2 separate regions of the Homo sapiens genome follow, and region 1 is linked to region 2. Evidence: promoter capture Hi-C in 16 types of primary human blood cells and fetal thymus (Javierre and others, 2016). All regions are on one chromosome and are shown on one strand. Each heading gives the region's core, a stretch centred on a gene start or on the middle of the fragment in contact. The rest is flanking DNA. Distances are from core to core; before and after follow the strand shown. Region 1 has its middle 6.5 kb from the start of GPC5. Region 2 holds the start of TGDS (TDP-glucose 4,6-dehydratase).

Region 1 (6,377 bases), core at 2,279-4,778, 3.2 Mb before region 2:
ATTAACAATAATTCAGTGGCTATTAGACTAGTAGAAAATATAACTTTAATAGTTTAAGCCTGGTTATCTGCTCTCACATTCTTGAAGATCAAATATAAGACATGGTATCATTGTTACATTATCATCAGTCAACCTTCATAGTTGTACTCAAGTGGAATGAATAGGAGTATAAGTATTCATCCCCATTAGTGTACTTCCTAACAAAGTGGTCTACATCTGAGTGTCCTATATGCATTTGTGAGCTTTTCAAGATGCTGCCCCTGGCCTTTCTTTCAAGCACTAATTTAGAAAACATTTACTGAGTTCCTGTTATGCGCTAGATCCTGTGCAGAATCTGGAGCAGCTTAAGATTTTCTTAAGGAAACAAACCTGTAATGGCATGTTTACCTAAATAATGACATATAATTAATCAGTACATAGTAACTGGCACAATAACATGTGATAGGAACCCAGAGGTGGAAGAGAATAGTGTGGAGTTGCATGGCTGGAAAATTCCTTGTGATGAGTAAGCAACTTGAGTGGAGCTTTTAACGAAAGAGAGGTGGAGAGCAAGAAGGAAATATTCCAGGCTTAAGTGATGCTTCAAGTTGAAATGAGCAAGGCACATTTTAGGGAAGATAAGTGGTGGATTTTTCTGCCTCCAGAAGAAACAGAGTTTATGTAGGAAGAAGAGTGAATTTAAATAAAAGTAAAGGGAACTCAATACATTTAAATGTTGAGCTTTCATGAGAATTTTATGAGAATAGCCCAGATCCCAAACCAAGAATCTGATTTTGGATAAGACCCAGGAATCTGCATTCTAATACTCCAAGTGAATATGTTACTGGCATTCCCTGAACTATATTTGAAGAAATACAGAGGTAGATGCTAGACTCTGGTTTGCCACCAATATACATTACACTAATATATACATATGTATATAATATATAGTATATAATATATAGTATATAATAAACTAGAAATAACCAATTAGCACTTTTTAGTATATTTATAATATACTAAATATATTATGTAGCATATATATATTAATATAAAAGCCTGATGCAAATGGACTGACATGGGCCTAGGATGGAGAATGATTTAGACCAGAAAGACAGTGTAGGTGATGACCCCACTCTGGGGCTAGTGCAATCCACTGGTAATTTAAAGAGAAAGCTTGGGGACGTTGGAATGAAGAAGATGAATATGAGAGAAAAGTGGATGACTTGATAAGTCATGTAATTTATATTACGTAGAGGTAATAAAGGAGAAAGAATATGAACATTCTGGTTTAGCACGGATGATTTTATTAACAAAAAGAACAGACCTCAGGCTCTTGTGTTTGTCAATAAGTTTAACAATGGATAAGGGAGAGTGTGAACTGGGGAGAAGATAATAACATCCCTTTGTTAAAAATAGAGTTTGAGATGATGGTAGAATACCCAAATTAAAAAGCAGATGGGGTAGATAAGAGGCCAGACCTAGAGAGAAACGTCTCTGGATATTTAGCACAGATGCTAGAGGTGAAGGCGTAAGCCTTCAGTATTCATTTTCTAGGGCTGCCAAACCCACAAACTTGGGGGCTTAATACAGAATTGTATTCTTTCAAGTTTCCAGAAATATCCATAGGTCTGAAATCAAAATGTCAGCAGGGTTGGTTCCTCCTGGAGGCTCCGAGGGAAGAGCCATCTCATTCCTCTTTTTTAAAAATTTTATTTTAAGTTCTGGGATTACATGTGCATGATGTGCAGATTTGTTACACAGGCAAACGTGTGCCATGGTGGTTTACTGCACCTATCAACCCATCACCTAGTTATCCTCAGCAAACTAACAAAGGAAAGAAAACCAAATACCACATCAGGCTCATTCCTCTCTTAACGTCAGGTGGTTGACAGCAATCCTTGGCATTTTTTTGGGTTGCAGCTGAATCACTCTAATCTTTGCCTCCATCTCATATCTCCTCCTTCTCTGTCTGCGTCTCCTCTTATAAGGACACCAGTCATTGGATTTAAATCTTGGATGATTTCATCTTAAGATCCTTAATTAATAACACCTGCAAAGATCCCAGCTCCAAATAAAGTAACATTCTGATATTCAAAATGCATGGGTGGACATGAATTTTGAGGGGAAACTATTTAACCCAGGACACCTTCCTAGGAAGAATAACTAGAAAAGCAAGGCCTAGGGCATAAGTCTTGGGAAATTTGGAGGCAGGGGAAAGGTAGAAAATAGGCAAAAGAATAGACAAAGAAATGTTGGAGAGCTAGGAGAAGACTGAGGACGGTGAATTTTCAGGAAAGCTGAAGGGGACAGAAATTTTACGAGAGTGTTTAGCAATGTCAGACTCAGCAGATATATGAAAAAAGTTGGCCGTGTGGTTTCGGACTAATCTGATATACAGAGATCAGGAAAGTAGCTAGATCATTTGGAAATATTGGCAGGAAAAGGAAAGTGAGGAAAAACTAGGATGCTATATAGGAAACAGAGCCCAGATGAAATGATACATATTTTCCTAAGATAAGAAGGGCCTAAATACATTATCCAGAAGCAGAAAGATGGCAATGATGTACAGTCTCCTCTGGCATATCCAGAGAGAGTATTGTTCTCTCTTCTCTCAAAATTTGGATCAAGAAGAGAATTCAAAAGTGGTCAGAGCAAAGGGTTTCTCCTTTCTGCTTGATAGCATGAACTGCTTGTACCTTTTCATATGCAAATGTAAAGAATTAAGCCGAATATTAATTAAATTGGAAAGACAATTGTAAAGTAATATTACATCTAGGGAGAGTTAATAAGGGTGGTACATGGTCCTTATTTATAAATAGCAGAGATTAAACATGATAAAAGGGATTCTTACATGGAACAATTAAAGATCAATTATGACAATGGTACACAGCAGCGAAAGCCTCTGGAAAAACTTCCTACTCATTAATCAAAGATAATTATCAATTATAAGGCTTAATTATTAGGAGAGAGTCTACATTTTGCATCTTAAAAAGCTGATGATAATTAGTTTCCAGATCCTGCTCTAAGTGCTCATTATGTTCAGAGAAGAGTGACTCTTTTACCTTTAAAAATGACTTTTAGCTCATGACCTTGAGCAACTTAAAATCTCCTGTACCTACGTTGAGTTGAGATGATGCTCATTTGTTCCATTACTCAAAAAAATAGTTTGATAGGTGCATAACTGCTATACGACATGAAAGAACCATATTACAAATATGGGGAGGGCAAGAGGTTTTACTTTTGAATTGTTATTGAGTTTAGAGGAGAGGGCTTATTACCTTAAATACCTCTAGGATGTAACTAATAGAGCACAAATTAATGGCAGGTATTTTTTTCAAGTGGGGAAGAAGAATAATGTCTAGTTATTGAGTGGTCACATAATCCAAGAATTGTACAAAATACTTCACATATATTATCTCAGTTAACCCTATCAACATTATAACATAGATGTTGTGTTTTCCCCTCATTTTACATAGTAAGTAAAGGAAATATCAGAGTGGTTTTAACAACCACCAAAGTGACACAGATAATGAATACCCATTCTGGAGAATATTTGATAACTAGCATTAAAAGTAATTTTATCTGAAAATATTTAAGATAGTATAATGTCAAAGTTGCAGGAAATTAATTAGGAAAATAATTCTTTATCTCTTGATTGAATAATTCATTTAGTGGTAACATTAACATTTTAAAACATCTACCTCAAATTTTTAATCATAAAAAGTAATGACAAGAAGTGAAACAGACATTAAAGATTTACTGAAAGTCAAATCTAGAAGATGAAGTGATCACAAATAGCTTGAGAAATTACAACCTGGTTTTGAAGATGTTTATTGATACTATTCTATCAGATAGTGAATTTTCCACTTTGAAAGTAATATAATAATTTAGGGATTAAGTGAAGTTAAAAAGTGGACTGCTGCTTAAAAAAGAATCAAAGATTTTAATAAAGATAACATAGGACACATGAGATTATCAACCTTATAGCAGCCAAATTCATTCAATAAAGTTATGCAATGACTACAGAGGGTAGAAGTGGATATGCGCAGGCTCACTTGACCTCAGAAGGCTTATCATCTGGCAGATAAACTCTTGTGGCCCCTTAGTTCTCAGGTTAAACAGCCAGCAACATTAGGTATACAATCTTATAAAGGTTAGAGACTTTTTCCCTAGTTTAATTTCTGGAAAACATTCACCTAAGCAAGATTATGTATTTCATGTAGTTAACAACTGGATTTATTGGTTAATATAATTATTTTTCCTTAAGCTGTTGATATAATTAATGATACAATGAAATTCTGGATGTAAATTTCACTCTATTTGGAAACCAAAAATAGTTGGTGCAAAACCAACATTTGAAAGTGAGAGAAATGTGTAGTATATTCATTTCCATTATGTTGTAATTATACATACAATTTACACATGCAATGTATATTGCAACTTTGAGGGACACGGTTTTAACATTCTTACATTATAGACTAGAAGAAAATTATTTGAAGACATTTGGCTTCATAAAATCATTGAGTGTTGCTGGTTTCTTTTCCTAGTCTTCTTTCTAATACTGTAGATTCTCTTTTTGAAAGCAACTATTATTTTTATTTCTCCATAAGTTCTCTGAAAGAAATGAAATGTCTTTCATTAGAAATTGCAAATATAAAACATGTAAAATTAAAGATAGTACAAAATACTTTTGAAATTTTCACACAGTAACAGTATTTATTTAAGGCTTTTTGTGAAATAGTTAACATTGTCTTTGCCTTGAAGCACACTCACTATGAGATAATGACATAAGTACATCTAAAATATTTAAAAATCATTGATAAACATGTACTGATGATTATGAGGATTTTCAAACTGAAAATATAGATTAGTGGTATACAGACACACATGTGTGTGTATATATATACACATTAGTGGTATACTGACACGTGTGTGTGTGTGTGTGTGTGATTTTTGAAAATGTTTGCTGATCAAAGATTCCCACTGACTGTCATGTTAATTTCAGTTTGGTGTCTGGTTTTGAGTATTTTATGTAATATTTTATTTGCTGTGTAGTCTCTCCTTTAGGCAGCCTTGCCTTCTCCTCTCCTCTCCTCGCCTCGCCTTACCTCGCCTCACCTCTCCTCTCTTCTTTTTTCGTTTCTTTTGAGACAGGGTCTCACGCTGTTACCCAGGCTGGAATGCAGTGGTGCGAACATGGCTCACTGCAGCCTCAACCTGCTGGGCTCAAGTGATCCTCCTACTTTAGCCTCCCAAGCTGCTGGGGCTTACAGGCATGTGCCATTATGCCTGGCCATTTTTTTGGAATTTTTGTAGAGACAGAGTTTCCCTATGTTGCCCAGGCTGGTCTCAAACTCCTGGGCTCAAGTGATCCTCCTGCCTTAGCCTCCCAAAGTGCTGAGATTACGGGCGAGAGCTACTGTGCCCGGTGGTGATTTTTTTTTTTTTTAACAGAACCATTACTATCTTCACTAGAGGAGATTTCAGGGGAGTATCACTCAATTTTCTCCTGGTTACTTGGTGGCAGAAATTCATTACTGGGGCAGCTCGGGCTGACATCCAACTTGGTTCTCTTTATTGTGCAACCAACGGCTTAGAGCCTACATCGGAGGGAGAGAGAAGGTAGGGCAAGACAAAAGTCAGCACTTTTTTGGAAATAATGAAGTGGAAGTTATTTGTATTAAGGATATTCTTTCTCTGACAACCTCCTTTTCACCCAGTTGATGAAAGAGGGATCCCCCTTTGTAAATTATACGAGATGATCAAACACACAAGACTGGACAGATGAGATTTACAGCAGTTTGTTAGTCACACATACTCATAGCCCAGGGGAGGAGGCTACCACATGCCATGCAGGGCCATACAGGGGAGGAGGGGCTTCATTTGGGAGCAGAGTGAACCTGCAGGAGTTGTGGGAGGCAAGCTTTGTAGTAACAAGAAGATGGTGTGTTGTGGGGAGGACCCCTTGGTTCCCACAGGAGGATGTGATTATCTTGTTGGACTAATTGCTCTGAAGGGAGGTGAAAGCCATTAGGTTGAAGACAGGGTGGGATGGAGCTGGTCCAGCTAAGGGAGGTAGCCAGCAAGCAAGACTTTCCATCTGGGTGGGGGGCATATCTGGCCAGAGCAGGAGAACTCATGACTAGGGACCTGTGAGGCTCAAAGATGTCAAGGCAGTTCGTGGGATTTTAGTGCTTGCAAAACAGTTCTCCTAGTTAAAAGCTTAGTGGAGGTAGGAAGTAGGAGCAGGTAGTACCTTGGCCAGCCCCACGTCAGTGAGGTACTATCAGGCCATCGTTGAAGCCAATGCAGAGCTCTGGACCACTATAACCAAGGTGTTCAGCAGGTTGTCCACATGGATAGCTGTGAGTACCAGAGTTTATATTTATATGATA
Region 2 (7,056 bases), core at 1,575-4,074:
AAATTCCTGTCCATAATAGCAAGTCAGGCAAAGCTTCATAAGAGTTAAGGGTTCTTCTTATGATGGATGTCCCAATTACCCTGATTTGATCATTACACATTGTATACATGTATCAAAACATCACCATATGCCCCATAACAAGTACAACTAAGATATGTCAATTAAAAAATAGAAAAAAAATCCAATTAAGGCTTATAATCACCAAATTGCCTTATGAATTTTTCTTATAGTTTTTTTGAATGAAAATCCAAAAAGTCCATTTGCAAAGTAGCAACTGAAAAAAACAAAATAAAACAAAAACTTTATTTTGTGGACCAACATAAGAAATGCAGGTTTCAAAAACTTTTATATAAGATTAAATACAGCATGAGCACATTACTATACAGAGCCTCTGAATTGCTAAAATGACTAAATAAAAAATTTAAATATCAGCATGACAAGATTCTAGTACTTTTAGAAAACATAAATTGAAATGTAATTTCAGTGCATGATGCTCATTTTTATAAAACTCACCTTGTCTAGATTTATGATCATATAGTTTGGATAATCTTCCACTAAAGAGACAATCATATGTGATGCACTATGGAAAAAAAGTATATCTTGTTAGTGAAAAACTTTAACTTCCCTAAACTCTTGAATATTTTCCTAAGGTGTTGAGTACTAGGAAAATACTCAAAGATAACTTTAATTTTTTCTAAGATAACAGAAAACATAACTACACTAAATATACACACATGCAAACTTTTTACCAAACTTCTCAACAGTATCTATAAACAAAAGTTTTACATTCCATTTAGACTATGCAGAAGAGAGAATGTACTGGTTCTGGGTATAGGGAAAAAAGTCAGTTTAACCAAACGATGCCATCCATACAGGTACAAGTATCGAGTAAAGTGGAACAATAAATGGGAGCTAGTCAGCACAACTGTACATGCCTATAGCATGCCTTTTCAGGAACTGCAGATATAAGTATGTAAAAATGAAATTACTATGAGTATAGTCAGTTGTCTATATTTAATAGTAACTTCTGCAATTGCTATTTCTTGGTATAAGATTTTGGTAATGTTAAACCAGAATCCTCAGGAGGCTTCTAGACTAAACCCAGGATTCCCAGGCTAATAACAGCTGAAACCATTCTGAGTTGGATATCCACAGTGGGTCCTGGGCTTCAGAGGACCCTAAAGGGGAATCACAGGCATATCTCAGTGAAATGATCTACCAGATTTACCATGTATACTTAAAATGTTGGGCTCCCAGGAGAGGGGAGCCCTTGACCAAATTATGAACTTGAAGTTTGTATTCGGCATTCCTTTCACAGCACTTTCTAAGTCGCACCCTTCCTGGACCCGCACTCTCACACAAGTATCACCCTTTCATGTCCATAGTCCTCTTTCTCATTAAGTGAAACTTGCCAGCCTGATGCTCTCCCCCAAATGACTTGTCGGATTAGAAGGGGTGATTTAATGTGCAAATGGCCATAAACAGGAATCCTCACATTCCCACTTCTTCCACTAGCCACTGAGTTCCTTGAGGGGAGGATAGGAGAGTTTCCTGTTTATTACTCTTGCATTCATCCATTCCACAATTACTAAAGACTTATATAGAATGGGCCAGGCATTCTTCCAGGTGCTGAATGAACAGTAGTCTCTGTCCTTACCGAGTTTGCATTTTAGAGTGGGGATACAAGCAATAAACAAGCAGACACAAATCCGCAATATAATTTCAGGTAGAGGTTAAGTGTGCTAGTTGGGAGAGGGGCTATTTTAGATATGGTGGTCAGGTAAGAACTCTCTGAGGTGCTATCTGAATAAAAACCAGAATTGAGTGGTGCAAACAGCCTAAGGAAAGGGGAAGCAAGTGCAAAGGCCTCAAGACAGAAGTGTGTATCTTGGTGTGTTCCAAGAACTAAGAGGGGAAGCATGGCAGGTACAGAAAAGCAGATCAGGTTGCAAAAGTAGGGCTTGGGCACTTGAGTTTTCTAGATATGGTAGAGTTTGGGCTTTATTCTTAAGTGTGGCAGGAACCACTGAAGTAAAATCCTGCTTCTACCATGATCTGATTGACTTAAGAAACACTGACTTGTATGTGAGCAACAGGCTTTAAAGGAACATGAGTGGACGCAGTTATGGCCAACCAAGAGGCTACAGCAGCAGTCGAGGCAAAAGATGACAGTAAACATGGGCTAGGGTGGAAACGGGAAACTGGTGAGAAGTGGTCGCCGTAAGGATATACTTTGGAAGTAGAGAGGACTTGCTGCTCGAATGTGGGTCTGAGGAAGAAAAGGGTGTCAACAGTGGATTTGTAAAAGTTTGCTGATTACATAGATGTCCTATTATAGTCCTTAAATCGTTTTGGGGGTGCCTATATGTACAGGGCCCATCGTGGGGTGTGGGTGCTCTAGGCTGGAGGTGGGAAGCAGTCGGTGAGCAGCTTAGGGTAACTTGCACGCACTCAAGGAGTGACATGGTGAGCACCTCCGGCCACAGAAGGGCGGAGAGTAACGCAGCTTTGGAAGAGGCGTTTTAAAGAAGTCAGTTTCAAAGGAACCACTTCTTTGCAGGCCAGAGAGAGAAAAGCTGGTCCAGGTCGTGCATTAGGACCCTCCCCATATCAGAATAAGGACCCCTCAAAGCTGGACCCAAATTACCTAGGGCAAGCAGAGCTGCGGGAAAAGGTAGGGGTTTCTGGGGAGCCACTGCTTGGCTAGCGGCGCCATTACCTACATGAAACCAGCACCGCCGGTCACCAGGACCCGCTTCGCAAAGCCGCCGGGAAGACCCCACGGTTCCTCCCAACACGCCGCCGACATCTCCCAGCTCAGCAGTGCCTAGTACCGTAAAGAGTATGGTCTGAAAAGCGCAGGGAAGTTCCGCCGCGACCTTTTGCGACGCGCCTCGCTCGCGGGACACGTTAACAGAGCAGCCAGAGGCAGCTTCCGGAGACTGCTCTGTGGCCAGTTTCTGCCCGCCCACTAGCGGGCTGGGCGGGGCCGCGCTCACCACGCGCAGGCGCTGCTCCTTTCCGCCCTTGCCTGGTCCGCCAGGTGCAATTGGGGTCGCCCGGATGGTAGGGGTATGGAACGTTTTTCCCGGAAATGCCACCACTATGGATCAGATTTATGAATGAGTACCTTTTTTCATTCTTGTACTACAGCCATCTCTAGAGGTTACCTATCAGTTGAGCTGAGAACGGGGAGTTGTTGCAGATGGAGATGGGAGGTTGCAATTTAAAAATGATTTTTTTTTTTAGTGGGGCGGGGACAGGGTCTCCCTCTGTTACCCAGGCTGGAGTGCAGTGGTGCGATCACGGCTCACTGCAGCGTCGACCAATGGGGCTCAAGCAATCCTCCCACCTCAGCCTCCTGAGTAGCTAGGAATACAGTCGTGCGCCACCACGCCCGCCTAATTTTTGGTAGAGATGGGTTTCGCCCTGTTGTCCAGGCTGGTCTCGAACTCCTGGGATCTAGCCAACCTCCCGCCTCAGCCTCCCAAGGTCCTGGGATTACAGGCGTGAGCACCGTGCCTGGCCTGCAAAATGATCTTTTGCTGTTGTTAATATTATTTCAGGCCGGGCGCCGTGGCTTACGCCTGTAATCCCAGGACTTTGGGAGGCCGAGGTGGGCGGATCACCTGAGGTCAGGATTCGAGACCAGCTTGGCCAACATGGTGAAACCCTGTCTCTACTAAAAATACAAAAATTAGCCGGGCGTGGTGGCGGGCGCCTGTAATCCCAGCTACTTGGGAGGCCGAGGCAGGAGAATTGCTTGAACCCGGAAGGCAGAGGTTGCAGTGAGCCGAGACCGCACCATCGCACTCCAGCCTGGGCAACAACAGCAAAACTCCGTCTCAAAAAATAATAATATTATTATTACAGACAGCGCAGAAGGCTTGCAATCATGATAAAGATATTCCCTAGGTCCTACGCTGATGTCTTATTCTATTCTCTCCTTTGCTCACTCCGCCCCAGCCTCCCCACCCTCCTTGCTCTTCATTCAATGTGCCAGGCATGCTACTTCCCCGGGACCTTGATTGTCTTTCCCCAGATGTCTGCCTAGTTTTTACCCTTACTTCCGTTTTCAGCTTGAATGGCATCCTATTGACCACCACAATTAAAATAGCGAGCTCTGCCCAACCCTGCCGAATCATCTTATCCTTCTTTATTTTTCTTCCTAGCACTCAACATTTACATTGATGTCACTGCCCTCTGTTTAGTGTTCCATGAGGTCAGGGGCTTTGTTTTGTTTTCTGCTGTAATCGCATGTCCTTAGAGACTTGGCACAGAATAAATGACCATTAAATATTGTCGAATAGATAAATATCTTTTTTTCCCCACCATAATGTTTGGCAAAGCTGAAAACGAATGGAAACATCCAGTACAGGTGTATATGTGGAAGAATCATACCACAACCTTTTTACAAGGCAAAGTGGTAAAACATATGAAAATTTCAAATGTTCATATTCTATGACCCCCTCAAATTCCATGATGTATAATATAGATAATTGTTCATTGCTGTATTGCTTGCAATAATGAAACACTGGAAATAATCTAAATGTGTATAATGTCTTCTAACTTTTAAAATGCAGTAAACTGCTATATAGCCTTTAAAAAGAATATACCAACATGGAATGAAGACCAAAATATATTGCAGTCGATACGTACAGTTTTTTTCTGACCAGACTCCTCCCCCCACTGTCCTTTATGATCTCCCCAAGTTGACCCAGGCAGGCCACAGAATGAAATCTGGCTGACTCTAGGCCAACTGAAGCCTCTTCTTGGGATTTAGAATTCGACTAAGGTGCTAGTATAGTCTGGTTACTCTACTTGAACTCTGAGGTCCTACAAAGCTGGAACTTTTTGGTGGCCATGTTCTTTCAAAGTGAGGAGCCAGAAAGCCTGTCTTCACAGTGAGAAAAACAAAGTTGATTGAGAAGAAAGAAAAGATAGGAAAGGCCTAACATTCAAGGCCTGTGTTATGATTTCTCTTCAGGACCAGTTTTATTCCTGTCCTTGGTTTACAAATACCACATATATTTGTGGTATTTGTAATACCACATATATTTGTGGTATTTGTGGCTTACTTGAAAGGATTGACCCTAAACTCTTAAAATAAGTTACCTTTAGGGATGAGATATGGGCAGGGAAAGGAGGAAATGGGGAGTTTAATTTTTACTTTATATACTTTTGTTTTTTTGAGACAGTCTCGCTCTGTTGCCCAGCCTGGAGTGCAGTGCCACAATCTTGACTCACTGCAACCTCTGCTTCCCAGGTTCAAGCGATTCTCCCATCTCAGCCTCCAAGTAGCTGGGATTACAGGCGCATGCTACCACACCTGGCTAGTTTTTGTATTTTTAGTAGAGATGAGTTTTCACCATGTTGGCCAGGCTGGTCTTGAACTCCTGACCTCAGGTGATCCACCCACCTCACTTCCCAAAGTGCTGGGATTACAGACGTGAGCCACTGCGCCCAGCCCACTTTATATACTTTTGACTGTGAATTTTTTTCTGAGACACATGGATTACTTGCATAATAAAGAATCCTTGCAGTTTTTTTTTTTTTTTTTTTTTTTTTTTTTGAGACGGAGTCTCGCTCTGTCGCCCAGGCCGGACTGCGGACTGCAGTGGCGCAATCTCGGCTCACTGCAAGCTCCGCTTCCCGGGTTCACGCCATTCTCCTGCCTCAGCCTCCCCAGTAGCTGGGACTACAGGCGCCCGCCACCGCGCCCGGCTAATTTTTTGTATTTTTAGTAGAGACGGGGTTTCACCTTGTTAGCCAGGATGGTCTCGATCTCCTGACCTCATGATCCACCCGCCTTGGCCTCCCAAAGTGCTGGGATTACAGGCGTGAGCCACCGCGCCCGGCCGCAGTTTTTTTTTAAAAAATCCGAAAATATTAATACTTCCAGCATATTCCTGGTCAGCCAGAAATACTGAAAATGCTGTGTATATGGTAGGAGGTGGTTCCTCAATATTTTTTTTTTCTAAATGATGAGGTCTGTTATGAGAACTTCCTTATATGTTATAGAAGCTTGTTGTTAAATGAAAATAATTTATATACATTTATTCATGAAATAATTTTGAGCTCCTACTTTTGTTACCAGTGGAGGGTCTTGACTGCAAGTTGTCCAGTTTCTTGGCATTTTGAACAAAGAATTGGACAAAATGCACAGCAAAGCAAGGCAAGAATGAAGCAACAAAAGAATGAAGCAACGAAAGAACGAAAGCAGGGATTTATTGAAAATGAAAGTACATGGCCGGGCGTGATGGCTCACACCTGTAATCCCAGCACTTTGGGAGGCCAAGGTGGGTGGATCTCTTGAGGTCAGGAGTTCGAGACCAGCCTGGTCGACATAGTGAAACCCCGTCTCTGCTAAAAATCCAAAATTAGCCAGGTGTGGTGGTGTGCACCTGTAATTCCAGCTGGAAGCTGAGGCAGGAGAATCACTTGAACCTGGGAGGCGGAGGTTGCAGTGAGCCGAGATTGTGCCACTGCACTCCAGCCTGAGTGACAGAGTGATACTCTGTCTCAAAAAAAGAAAATGCAACTACACAGCGCAGAAGGGCCTGGACACATAATCATCTTGGGTCCAAATACTCCCTAGAAGTTTCCCATTGGCCACTTGGAGCTCACCTCATATAAATGAAGTGGTGGCCCCCAATAGGTCTGATTCTTGGGGAAAGCAATGAATCAGAGGCTGAAGTGGAGTTACAAAGGTCACACTCCTGTGCAAACATCTGATTGGTTGCAAAAAGCAATGTTACAGAGTTACAAAGTTGCACTTCTATGCAAACGAAGACTCAGCTGGCAATCAGTCTGACTGGGTAGGGACAGCCAATTTCTTATCTGCCTCACAGAAAAGGTGGGGATTTGCAAAGGGCATAGCCTCTGGTCCTTTTGTTACTTAGGGTGGAAAGTTAGGGTTTTCCTTTAATAGTTCTAGAAAGTCGGTGTAAAAACGCCTTAGGTTCCCTCACCCCAGGCCCTATTCTCCTGCCTCACTTTCATTAAGACAGGTATAGCCAGCAAGGTGGCTTACGCCTGTAATCCCAGCACTTTGGG

What was found. The method cuts DNA at HindIII sites, captures the fragments that hold promoters and counts their contacts. A CHiCAGO score of 5 or more calls a contact.
Region 1: a contact is called between a fragment that was not itself captured here and the fragment with the promoter of TGDS in region 2, in 2 of 17 cell types (naive B cells and total B cells). The highest score is 7.3, in naive B cells.

What each region holds. Positions count from the first base shown.
Region 1 is chr13:91,388,902-91,395,278 of GRCh38, forward strand. No RefSeq gene overlaps it. Among named protein-coding and RNA genes, the nearest start is that of GPC5, 6.5 kb to the right of the region's middle. The HindIII fragment of the contact is 4,750 bases long and covers 1,154-5,903 here.
Region 2 is chr13:94,593,328-94,600,383 of GRCh38, forward strand. TGDS (TDP-glucose 4,6-dehydratase) reads right to left here and starts at 2,825. Exons shown (of 12, transcript NM_014305.4): 1 at 2,724-2,825; 2 at 514-580. The coding sequence starts at 2,809. RefSeq lists an enhancer at 2,689-2,998. The HindIII fragment of the contact is 5,991 bases long and covers 32-6,022 here.